3 separate regions of the Homo sapiens genome follow, and regions 2 and 3 are each linked to region 1. Evidence: promoter capture Hi-C in 16 types of primary human blood cells and fetal thymus (Javierre and others, 2016). All regions are on one chromosome and are shown on one strand. The core of a region is centred on a gene start or on the middle of the fragment in contact, and the rest is flanking DNA. Distances in the headings are between cores, read along the strand shown. Region 1 holds the start of GSG1L (GSG1 like). Region 2 overlaps GSG1L (GSG1 like). Region 3 overlaps GSG1L (GSG1 like).

Region 1 (4,054 bases), core at 1,294-3,793:
AGTGCAGTGGCACGATCTCAGCTCACTGCAACCTCTGCCCCCGGGGTTCAAGGGATTCTCCTGCCTCAGCCTCCTGAGTAGCTGGAATTACAGTTGTGCGCCACCACACCAGGCTAATTTTTGTATTTTTAGTAGAGACAGGGTTTCGCCATGTTGGCCAGGCTGGTCTTGAACTCTTGACCTCAGGTGATCTGCCCGCCTCGGCCTCTCAAAGTTCTGAGTGATGTTCTTTCTTACGAACTTTGTTCACGTTCTCTTTTCTTCCCAGTGCTGAGCATTCAGTGGGTGGCTCAGTGAGTGGAGGAGCATCTTAGATGGAAATTCCAAATCCCTCTGTGCATCCTCAGGTGTTTCTTGAGAGAGTGTGGTCCCTGAGACATATCTCACCTGGGCTCTCCTGGCTTTGAACATGCAGGACAGGGTTCCCAGCTGTAGGTCACCGAGCCCTGCTCACATGCACACCAACCACAGCCTCGAGTCCAAAGAAGTACCCTGTTTAGCACACATCGAGGGGCTGGTTTTCATTGGTACACAGACACTCATGATGAATACTGCATGCCAGTTTAAAAGTGCTACTGGAGGCTGGGTGCGGTGGCTCATGCCTGTAATCCCAGCACTTTGGGAGGCCGAGGCGGGCAGATCACTTGAGGTCAGGAGTTCGAGACAAGCCTGACCAACACGGTGAAACCCCGTCTCTGCTAAAAATATGAAAAATAGCCAGGCGTGGTGGCAAGCGCCTGTAATACCAGCTACTCGGGAGGCTGAAGTATGAGAATCGCTTGAACCCAGAAGGCGGAGGTTGCAGTGAGCTGAGATTGCACCACTGCACTCCAGCCTGGGCGACAGAGTGAGACTCCATCTCAAAAAAAAAAAAAAAAAAAAGATGCTACTGGATTCTTTACAGCTGTTTGGCGATGATGTATTTTCTCTGTCAACCAATACTCTCAATGCCACCATTATCACATGGAGGTCCTCTCTTTCAAAATAGTTGAGAATCTCTTGCACAGTGCCAGAAAAGGGCTCTAAAAGCAAGTTTGGAGACCCTTGGCCATCCTTCGTGCCTGCTCTTACCAGGGACGTTGCCCACAACGTTTTCCTCTCACCTACCCCCCGGCAGATTAGCAGCAGCTGACAGTGGGTGCCGGCTCACCCACAGGAGTAAGGCAATTCATAATCGGTTAACCTTGAATTCTGCAAGGCCTGCCACTCGGCAAGCCGGGGGTTGTCGGAGCAGTTCTCAGCTTGGGCAGAATTCAAATGAGCTCTTATAATCAACATGCAATTAATTGTTGCACGCCCTGAGCATCTGGGCAGTAAGTGCTGTGCAGCGCGAAGGGAGTTCAGGGAGCGTGGTCATCTTAGAGCAGAGGTGGGGACGGGGTTGCACACAGTTTCCACGTTGCACAGGAGAGCCTGAAGAGGTTTGTCTGAGTTTGGTCAACTGATCTTGGTTCAGATGTCAGTAACAGTGAATTATTAATTGAGTCTACTGTGTGCCAAATGCTTTTTGCAGCCATGATCTCATTACAGCAGCCCACTGTGATATACCTTGAAGGGGGGGGGGTCCTCCCTTTTTTATAGTTATGGAAATTGAGGCTCAGAGAGGGTAAGTGACCTGTTCAAAGCCACACAGCTGGTCAAGCCCTAGATATGCTTGATCCCAAAGTCAGTATGTTTGGCCACCCTGCCCCCACCCGAATCTTGAAGATTCTACCCACATTCACATGGTGTGCATGTGAGCAGGGTTGGCAGCCCCTGTAGGGCACCACTGCCTGGTAGCTGCAATAACTTTGTGGCCGGCATGGGCCCTCCTAGGGTTCTGCTGTTTGGGATCTCAGGTGGGTGCAGTGGGCTGTCTGGGGTACCCTGTTGCCACTCTTCCTGCAGTTGCATGCCATGGTTGGGAGCCCAGATGACAGTTTCATCCTTGGAGGGGAGCTCTTCCCAGATGCTGGAGGTGACACCCAGGAGACAGAAAAACGTTTCAAACCCTATAACCCAATACTCCAGGAGGGGCGCCTCCTGACAGATTCTGCCACTCCAAGTCCAGCATGGGTTGTCTTATCCAGGGGGTCTTGCAGCTCCCTGGCTGTGGGAAGCCCTGCAGGCTCTGCTGTTTAGAACCTTTGGAAAAACTCCTTTCTCAGGGTCTGGTGCGGGGGTCCTTTTGGGGATCCCCTTCTGGGACAGGGTCCTGCTGGTCCGTGTCCCTCTTGGGGAGCCCCAGCAGGCTCTGCCCTTGTCTCCTGGGGCAGGGCCTCTCTGGGTCTCATGAGATGCCCGCTCCCGGCGGGTTTTGTTGCCCCACGTCCGCCGTGGGGATCTTTTCTCAGGAGCGCCTTGCCTGGGATTCTCCTTGCGTCTCAGACCCTCACCCTGGCTCGGATTTCTTTCGGGGGCGTCCCTCCACTCCCAGGCCCCCGCCCGCGCCCGGCGTGGCGGCCCCCTCTCCCCGTGCGGGCGGGCTCCGGAACAGTGTCGCCGGCCGCCTGCAGGTGTCTCCCCACGGAGGGGCGCGCGTCCCTGCGCCGTGGCCGCTGCCAGGCGCCAGCGGCTCCTAGCCGAGGTGCACTCGCGCTCCGGGCTCCGGGCGCGCCGTAGCCGCTCCTCCACCGCCGCCCGCCCCGCCAGCCCGCCCCGCACGCCCCCCGCGCCGCGCCCCCACCCCGGGGTTGGGGGGGGCATGGGCCCGCGCCGCGTCCGCCGCCGCCGATCTCAGGCACCCGAGCCCCGGGGCGCGGCGGGCAGCGGCCGCTGACGCGGGGCGCCAGCTGCCAACTTCGCGCGCGGAGCTCCCCGGCGGTGCAGTCCCGTCCCGGCGGCGCGGGCGGCATGAAGACTAGCCGCCGCGGCCGAGCGCTCCTGGCCGTGGCCCTGAACCTGCTGGCGCTGCTGTTCGCCACCACCGCTTTCCTCACCACGCACTGGTGCCAGGGCACGCAGCGGGTCCCCAAGCCGGGCTGCGGCCAGGGCGGGCGCGCCAACTGCCCCAACTCGGGCGCCAACGCCACGGCCAACGGCACCGCCGCCCCCGCCGCCGCCGCCGCCGCCGCCACCGCCTCGGGGAACGGCCCCCCTGGCGGCGCGCTCTACAGCTGGGAGACCGGCGACGACCGCTTCCTCTTCAGGAATTTCCACACCGGCATCTGGTACTCGTGCGAGGAGGAGCTCAGCGGGCTTGGTGAGTGCGCGCGGGCGGCGGCCAGCTCGGCTCCGGCTCCCCCGGGGCGGCGCGGCCATCGAGGCCCGAGCCCCGGACCCGTTCGCCCTCCTCCCGCCGCCTGGGCCCAGCTCCCAGCGCTCCGCCTGGCTAGGGGCGACGTTCCGGGGCAGGGGGCGCGCGCCGTTCCGGGGCCGGGGACCAGCATGGGGGGACGTGCGGGACGCCCCGCCGTGGAGAGGTGCAAGGCAGAGCTCCTACCCGCTGCGGACGCCCCGCGGCTTTGGGGACGCTCCCGCGCCCCGGGAAGGCGCCCACCCCCGCTGCCGGTCGGAGGGGCGCGCGCTGCTTTCCGCTCCTGAACTCATCTCCACGCTCGCCCCCTCCTCCTCTTCCTTTCGCGGGGCACTAGATGCCCCCACCCACCCCGGAACGCCCCTGGGGGTGGGGGTGATGCAGGGACTCCTGCTACCAGCCGCCCCTCCTGCCGCAGATCCACAGACCCGGGAGCCTTCCACCCCCATCGCCAACCCACGCCGAACCTCCCAGACGGGAGTGGGGAGTGGGGGAGTCCCGCGGGCTCCCGGAAAGCCGCACCCGCCCAGAGGCACCCCTATTGCCAGACGCCAGGGAGCCCTCTGTATCCTGGCCCCCTCCTGGGAGAGGCAGGCTAGGGAACTGGGGACAGCTGGGCAAACTCCGGGTCGAGGAGTCCAGGAGGGCTTAGCTTAGCACAAGGCTCCTATTAGGTTCGGTGGGGGACTGACTTTTCAGAAGGCAGATCAGACTGTCCCCTTTGCCTGGACCCCCTCCTCTACCCTCCAGAGGCAGCCTGGGCTGGAGTGCGTGTTTTGGAGGCAGACAGCCGGGCTGTGGCAGGGCCCAGGGGACAGC
Region 2 (3,585 bases), core at 639-3,138, 82 kb after region 1:
ATCAGGGGTTATTTATGCCACAGGTGTCGTTTAAAGACCTTGCTGCGGGAGTCAAACATTGTTCATCATGGCAATTTCACTTCAAGATGGTGTCACTCTTGCCATGCAACAGGCTGTTTTCCTGCAAGCTGAGATGCAGATAATCATGGGCCACAATCTCACAGTGTCAGCCATAGAATGCCTCCAAAAAAACTCCCCAGTATCCCTGCCCCCCATTTTGATTTCTCTTTCAAAGCATGCTCTTGGAGAATGAGATAGGGTAACTGAGGAGGGAGGATTGCTTGAGCCTAGGAGTTTGAGACCAGCCTGGGCAACATAGTGAGACCCCATCTCTATATTTAGAAAAAGGGCAGAAATAAGACTGAGATAAGGGGAAAATATTTGCCTTGCTTTAAACCAAACCAAACATATGGGATGACATTACAAAAATCACAATTCTTTAATTTATCAAGCTTCCCTGAAACTGAGTCCTTGTCCTGCACCACGTGCCTCACATGTATTACCTCATTTATCTCCAGCTACCCTATGTGTAGGGCAGCACTAGCTGCTGTAACAAATAAGCCCTGAAATGTCAATGGAGTAACAGTAGAAGTTTATTTTCTTTTATTAATTTTTATTTTTATTATTATTTTTTTGAGACAGAGTCTTGCTCTGTCACCCAGGCTGGAGTGCAGTGACATGATCCGGGCTCACTGCAGCCTCAAACTCCTGGGCTCAAGTGATCCTCCTTCCTTAGTCTCCTGAGTAGCTGGGACTACAGGCATGCACCGCCATGCCCAGCTAATTTTTGTATTTTCAGTAGAAACAGGGTTTCAACATGTTGTCCCAGCTGGTCTGAAACTCCTGGACTCAAGTGATCCTCCTGCCTTGTCCTCCCAAAGTGCTGGGATTACAGGTGTGAGCCACTGTGCCCAGCTAGCAATAGAAGTTTGTTTCCTGCTCATGTAACATGTCAGCACAGGTGGTCCTGGTGGATGGCAGTTCTACTCTACATAGTGTTTTGGGATGATATGGTTTGGTAATTTGTCCCCTACAAATCTCATGTTGAAATGTGATCCCCCATGTTGGAGGTGGGGACTGGTAGGAGGTGTTTGGGTCATGGGCGTGGATCCCTTATGAATGACTTGGTGCCCTGCCCACGACAATGAGTTCATGCAAGATCTGGTTGTTAAAGAAACTGGAAGGTCCTCTCCTCTCTCTTGCTCCTGCTCTCACCATGTGATACGCCTACTCCCCCTTCACCTTCCAACATGAGTAAAAGCTTCCTGAGGCCTGACCAGAAGCAGAGCAGATGCTGATACCATGCTTATATGGCCTGCAGAGCCACGAGCCAAATAAACCTCATACTCTATAAATTACCCAGTCTGAGGTATTCCTTTATAGCAACGCAAAATAGACTAACCCAGGGGACTATGCAACTTCCAAATTGTTCCATTTCATGGAGCCTTAGAGCCCTTTGCATCTAGGTGGAAGAGGAAAGAGAGAGTACACCCATTTCATAAAAGCCCTCCCCAGGAATTGCCTCACTTCACGCACACACACATCATATTGGCAGGAACTAGTCACGTGACCCACTGCTCACATGACCCCACTGGGATGCGGGGGATGCTGGGAAATATTGTACCTGGCTGGGCTGAGTGCAATGGCACAATCATAGCTCACTGCAGCCTTGAACTCCTGGGCTCAAGTAATCCTCCCACCACAGCTTTTTGAGTTGCTAGGGCTACAGGTGCGTGTCACCACATTGGCTCATTTTTTGTTTTTTATAGAGACAAGCTCTTGCTGTGTTGCCCAGACTTGTCTCAAATTCCTGGCCTCAAGTGATCCTCCCTCCTCAGCCTCCCAGCGTGCTGGGATTACAGGCATGAGCCATGGTGCCTGGCCAGGGCAGCTACTTCTTAGCAATAACTCCATACTACAGAAGATCACTTCTTTTGGTAGATAGCTAGCTGTTTCTGCCATACCTGATGTGGTAGAGGTGACAATTATAACCATTTTACAGATGTGGAAACTAAGACCCAGAGAGTCTGACCCCTGGGTCACAGAGCTTGTATGTGGCAGAGCTGAGACTTGAATTCAGGACTCTGTAAGTTTAAATCTCTTACATTTAATCACTATAATTCTAATTTTAGATAAGCATTTAGCTTCTTCAGCTTTAACATTCTTGAGAACAAAATTCTTCCCTTGATTTATACAAAATGCCCCAAATGCCCAAGCAACGTATGTCTGGAGGCCACGGTGTAGCAGTCATGATGCCAAGCGGGGTTTTAGTCTTCAGTATTTCATCCATTTGTAGAAACGATTATCCCCAGAAAGTTGACCTGCATTTTGGACTCCTGCCAGAAATCAAGGCATGGTACCATCTGTAAGAGATAAATAAATCAAAATATCATCAGCAGAGAAGTGTGTGCCATCTGCTGCCCCGTCAGTTGAACTGGCAGAGGCCTCCGGAGAATCCAAGGAAGTGCTTGCCAAGGCTCTGCCGCCAGCCCAGATAGTGAGAGGAGAAGCTTCACACAAGATCTGTTGGCATTTTTTTCCCCCAGCTGAATTCCTTGAATCTGGCCAGCAAAGGTGTATGAACTCTTGCCCTTGCCAACCAGTTAAAATCATTCCCCATTGGCCTCATTTGCTGGGGACCAGGACTGATTCTTCTCTGCCCGCCCAGCAAGTTGAAAGCACTCAACTATGAAGAAAATTTACCATGCACCTGCCAAAAAGCTTTGCTGCTTGTGGAATCTGGGTCTCGGAACCAGGGTCAAACTTTGAACCAGCCAGATTTGAGTCCACTTCGCTGGGCACGTCTGGAAGGCTGCTAGGTTCTCCTGCCACGTGTGGGGTCTCTGGAGGGTGTGTGGGACTTTCCTTAGGAGGAATGAATTTTACTAGGACCTGCCTGCTCTGCTAAGATGTAGTACAGAGGAATGACCAAATCAAAGGCTCTGTGCCAAGCTGTCTTGATTGGAATCCTGGCTCCACCACTAGCTGTGTAAAGTTAGACAAGTGATTCACTCAATCTCCCTCTGCCTCAGTTTCTTTTTTTCTTTCTTTCTTTTTTTTTTTTTTTTGTTTTTTGGTTTTTGGTTTTTGAGACGACATCTCACTCTATTGCCCAGGCTAGAGTGCAGTGCGTGATCTCAGCTCACTGCAACCTCTGCCTCCCAGGTTCAAGCGGTTCTTCTGCCTCAGCCTCCAGAGTAGCTGGAATTACAGGCATGTGCCATCGTGCCTGGCTAATTTTGTATTTTTAGTAGAGTCAGGGTTTCACCATGTTGGCCAGGCTGGTCTCGAACTGCTGGGCTCAAATGATCTGCTCACCTCAGCCTCCCAGAGTGCTGAGATTACAGGCCTGAGCCACCGTGCCCAGCCAGCCTCAGTTTCTTCATCTGTAAAATGGGTGTGGTCATAGGAGCTGCCTCATAGGCTGTCGTGCAGATTAGCAATTGATGCATGTAAAGCACTTAGAACACACGTTGGTAGGCGCATAAAGCATGTCAGCACGTGTTATTGGCTGGTTGACTTTGTGAAACTGTTGCTACTGCCTCTCTCTGTTGACCCTGCCTTCCCCGCCTCTCCCCACCTCCT
Region 3 (3,564 bases), core at 691-3,190, 110 kb after region 1:
ATGTCTCATGTTGTTTTTATTTGTCTGTCACACTTGACTAGATGTTTTGCTGGGTATAAAATTTTAGGTTGGAAATAATTTTCCCACAAAATTTGGGAAGGATTGGCTGCTCCCTTGTCTTCCAGACTCCAGTGTTGTTGAAAATTTCAATGTTATTCTGATTCTTTTGTGTGATCTGATTTTTTCCCCTCTCTGGAAGCTTTTAATATCTTATTTTCTGTTCTCACTTTTTTTTAATCTTCCATTTTCATTTTTATTTGCCTTTTTATTTATTCCTCAGATATTTATTCAATTTTTATATTTCAATCAGCCAGTCTACTTTTAACATTTCTACAGTCATACTTTTAATTTTAAGAGCTTTTTCTTGTTATAGGAATGTTCTTTTTTTTAATAGTCTCCTGCTTTTGTTTTATGGACACAATATCTTCTCATATTTCTCCAATGATATTAATTTTTTTAAGTTTGCTTCTCTACCCTTTAATGTCTCTGTTTCTTCCAAGTTCTTTTGCCTATCTTATTTTAATTTCAACTGTCTTTTATATTGTTTTCCTTAAACATCTGATGTTCACGTTTAACAGTGAGGTGCGAACTTACTATTTTGAAGCTCAAGATACAGTGGAGATGGGGAGAATATTGGCCAATGGACTTCCCAATCATCTGAGCTATAAACTCCTCATCCAAAAAGTTCATTTGGGCCAGGCATGATGGCTCACATCTGTGATCCCAGCACTTTGGGAGGCTGAGGCAGGAGGATTGCTTGAGGCCAGGAGTTCCAGACCAGCCCAGGTAACATAGTGAGACCCCTGTTTCTATGAAAAATTTAAAAATAAAATTAACTGGACATGGTGGTGTGTACCTGCAGTCCTAGCTACTCAGAAGGCTGAAATGGGAGGATTGCTTGAGCTGGGGAGTTCAAGGCTGCAGTGAGCTAGGATCGTACCACCACACTCCAGCCTGGGTGACAGGGCAAAACCCTGTCTCAAAAACAAAATGAAACAAAACAAAAAGTTCATCTGATGAACCCATACGCACTGTCACGAGGCTTTTTCTCTTGCACTGATCAGTTTCCCGCAAGAGGAACTCTCCCATCTCCAGTGTATTAATAAACTCAGCCATCAGCATTCTGGGAATCAAATGGGGGGCCTGGGAGGTATCTCAGTGGCACACATGTAGACTTTCACTTAATTCTTGGTTTTCAGTATGGAGCTCAGCTGGGCCTGGTTCCTCTATTTGAAGGATTTTCTGAAGTTTCCTCTGTGGCTTCCTCCATGCGGGTAGTCAACTTCCAGCCTTCTCCTATCTGCTAAGTCATTAACCAACTATTCATGAAATTTCTAGCTTTTAAAATGTTGCTGCCATCTTTTTTTTCTATTGTTATCTCTTGTCACATCCTCTTTGTTCTGAGGATTTATGACTTTCTTATTCCTTAACTGTAATGATTGGCGGTATTGAAAGAGAGCAGTGGCCTTTGGTTCAGCCCCATGTTCAATCCCAGGTTTGACTTTGTAAACCCAGGTCTCTCTCCTGAGCTCTAGATTCCACCTCCAACTGCCTCCTGGACACTTCCTCCTGAGTGCCCCCAGGGACTGCAAACTCAGCTGGTCCACAATAGAAAACACTTGACCCTTCTTTGTCCATTGTCCTGTCTTCACCATTATCTGCTCTGATTCCAAAGCCAGGAACCAGAAGGTCATCCTCAACTCTTTCCAAATTCAATTATTTGACAAGTTCAGTTTCTTTTGTTTCATAAATATCTTTGTTTCTTTGTTTTTTTGAGATGGAGTCTTGCTCTGTCACCTAGGCTGGAGTGCGGTGGTGCAATCTCTGTTCACTGCAGCCTCTGCCTCCTGGGTACCAGCAATTCTCCTGCCTCAGCCTTCCGAGCAGCTGGCATTACAGGCATGCACCACCATGCCTGGCTAATTTTTGTATTTTTAGTAGAGATGAGGTTTCACCATGTTGGCCAGGCTTGTTTTGAACTCCTGACCTCAAGTGATCTGCCCACCTTGGCCTCCCAAAGTGCTGGGATTACAAGTATGAGCCATTGCACCCAGCCTATCTCCTAAATACCTTTTGCATTGGTGCGTCTTCTCTATCTCCACTGCCACAGCCCCTTTCTGCTTCTCATCACATCTCTCCTGCCATGACAATAATCTCTCAGTTGGCCTCCCAGACTCCAGTCTGCGCTGCTTAAAATCCATTCCTCAATGCTCATCAACACACCTAATGGAAAACTATAGAGCAACGAAAATGAACAATGTACAGCCAGGCATGGTGGCTCATACCTGTAATCCTAGTGCTTTGGGAGGCCAAGGTGGGAAGATCGCTTGAAGCCAGAAATTTGAGACCAGGCTGGGCAAAACAGCAAGACCCCATCTCTATGAAAAATTTATAAATTAGCCCAGTGTGGTGGCACGCACCTGTACTCCCAGCTACTTGTGAGGTTGAGGCAGGAGGATCACTTGAGCCCAGGAGGTAGAGGTTGCAGTGAGCTGTAATCATGCTGCAATCCAGGCTGGATGACATAGTGAGACTCTGTTTCTAAAAGAAAAAGAAAAGAAAAAAACAAATATGACTGCTCACAACATGGATGTTAGGTAAAAGAAGCTGCATTCAAAAGAATACATTCCATATGATTGCATTCCTGCAAAACCGGAAAATGCAGAAGCCCTATCTGTATTGTTAGAAGTTGGGTCAGCGGTTGCCCTTGCAGAGAAGGTGTAACTGAAAGGGAACTTGCGGAGGGCTTGGCAGCTGGCAGCATTATGTTTCTTGATCTGAGTGCTAATTATGTGTATATGTTCAGTTTAAAGGAAGTTCACCAAGCTGCATGCTTAGGATATATGCAGTTTTCTGTGTGCGTGTTGTATACTTTGCTAAAAAGGAAAGAAAAGTGTTTCCTATGCTGAATTTCAAATTATCTTTCTAAAATGAAAATCCAGTTACATCAGGCCCCTGCTGAAAACCTTTGCATGGCTCTCAAACATACACAGGGCATTTTAACCTGGCATTTATGGCCCAGCACGGTCTAGTTCTTGTCTGCCTTTTCAATCCCTGCCTCCTACAGTCCCTTATGTGAATCCTGTGCTCCAGTCCTGATGCTCTGCACACATCCATTTCCCCCAAACTATCCATCACCTCTCATGCCTCTGTGCCTTTGCATGTGCTGTTCCCTCTGCCTGACTTGCCTTTACCACCTCGTTTGCTTTGCAAACTTATATTCATCCTTCAAAACCCAGCTTAGAAATGACCTTTTGTGAAAAGCTATCCCTAAACCCCCAGAGGAACCTACTTACAGAGACTGGTCCTCTGAGCACTGATCCCGCTGTGTTGTGGTGACCTCCTCCAGCAGGCTGGATACTCCCTCAACACAAGCACTGCATCTTGTCTTTGTGGCGCCTGTGTGCCCGACGGGGCTGTACAGAGCAAGAATTTAGTAAAGGTTTGTTGAATAAATGAATGGGTGAATGAGTGAATGAATAGGGGCCAGGTTATAGATAGTGGGTGGCCCATTTGGGCTTAGAAACCTGGATCTGACTCCTGAAGCTGTGATCTCCTCTGACC

The links. The method cuts DNA at HindIII sites, captures the fragments that hold promoters and counts their contacts. A CHiCAGO score of 5 or more calls a contact.
Region 2: a contact is called between a fragment that was not itself captured here and the fragment with the promoter of GSG1L in region 1, in 4 of 17 cell types (M0 macrophages, M1 macrophages, endothelial precursors and 1 more). The highest score is 7.1, in M0 macrophages.
Region 3: a fragment that was not itself captured here is called in contact with the fragment with the promoter of GSG1L in region 1 in 1 of 17 cell types (M2 macrophages); the score reaches 5.1 in M2 macrophages.

Annotation. Positions count from the first base shown.
Region 1 is chr16:28,062,203-28,066,256 of GRCh38, reverse strand. It overlaps GSG1L (GSG1 like), which reads left to right and starts at 2,543. Exons shown (of 7, transcript NM_001109763.2): 1 at 2,543-3,181. The coding sequence starts at 2,833. The HindIII fragment of the contact is 8,058 bases long and covers 1-4,054 here.
Region 2 is chr16:27,980,385-27,983,969 of GRCh38, reverse strand. All of the region lies in intron 1 of GSG1L (GSG1 like), which reads left to right. Among named protein-coding and RNA genes, the nearest start is that of GSG1L, 82 kb to the left of the region's middle. The HindIII fragment of the contact is 1,249 bases long and covers 1,264-2,512 here.
Region 3 is chr16:27,952,089-27,955,652 of GRCh38, reverse strand. The region is part of intron 2 of GSG1L (GSG1 like); the gene reads left to right. Among named protein-coding and RNA genes, the nearest start is that of GSG1L, 110 kb to the left of the region's middle. The HindIII fragment of the contact is 3,477 bases long and covers 202-3,564 here.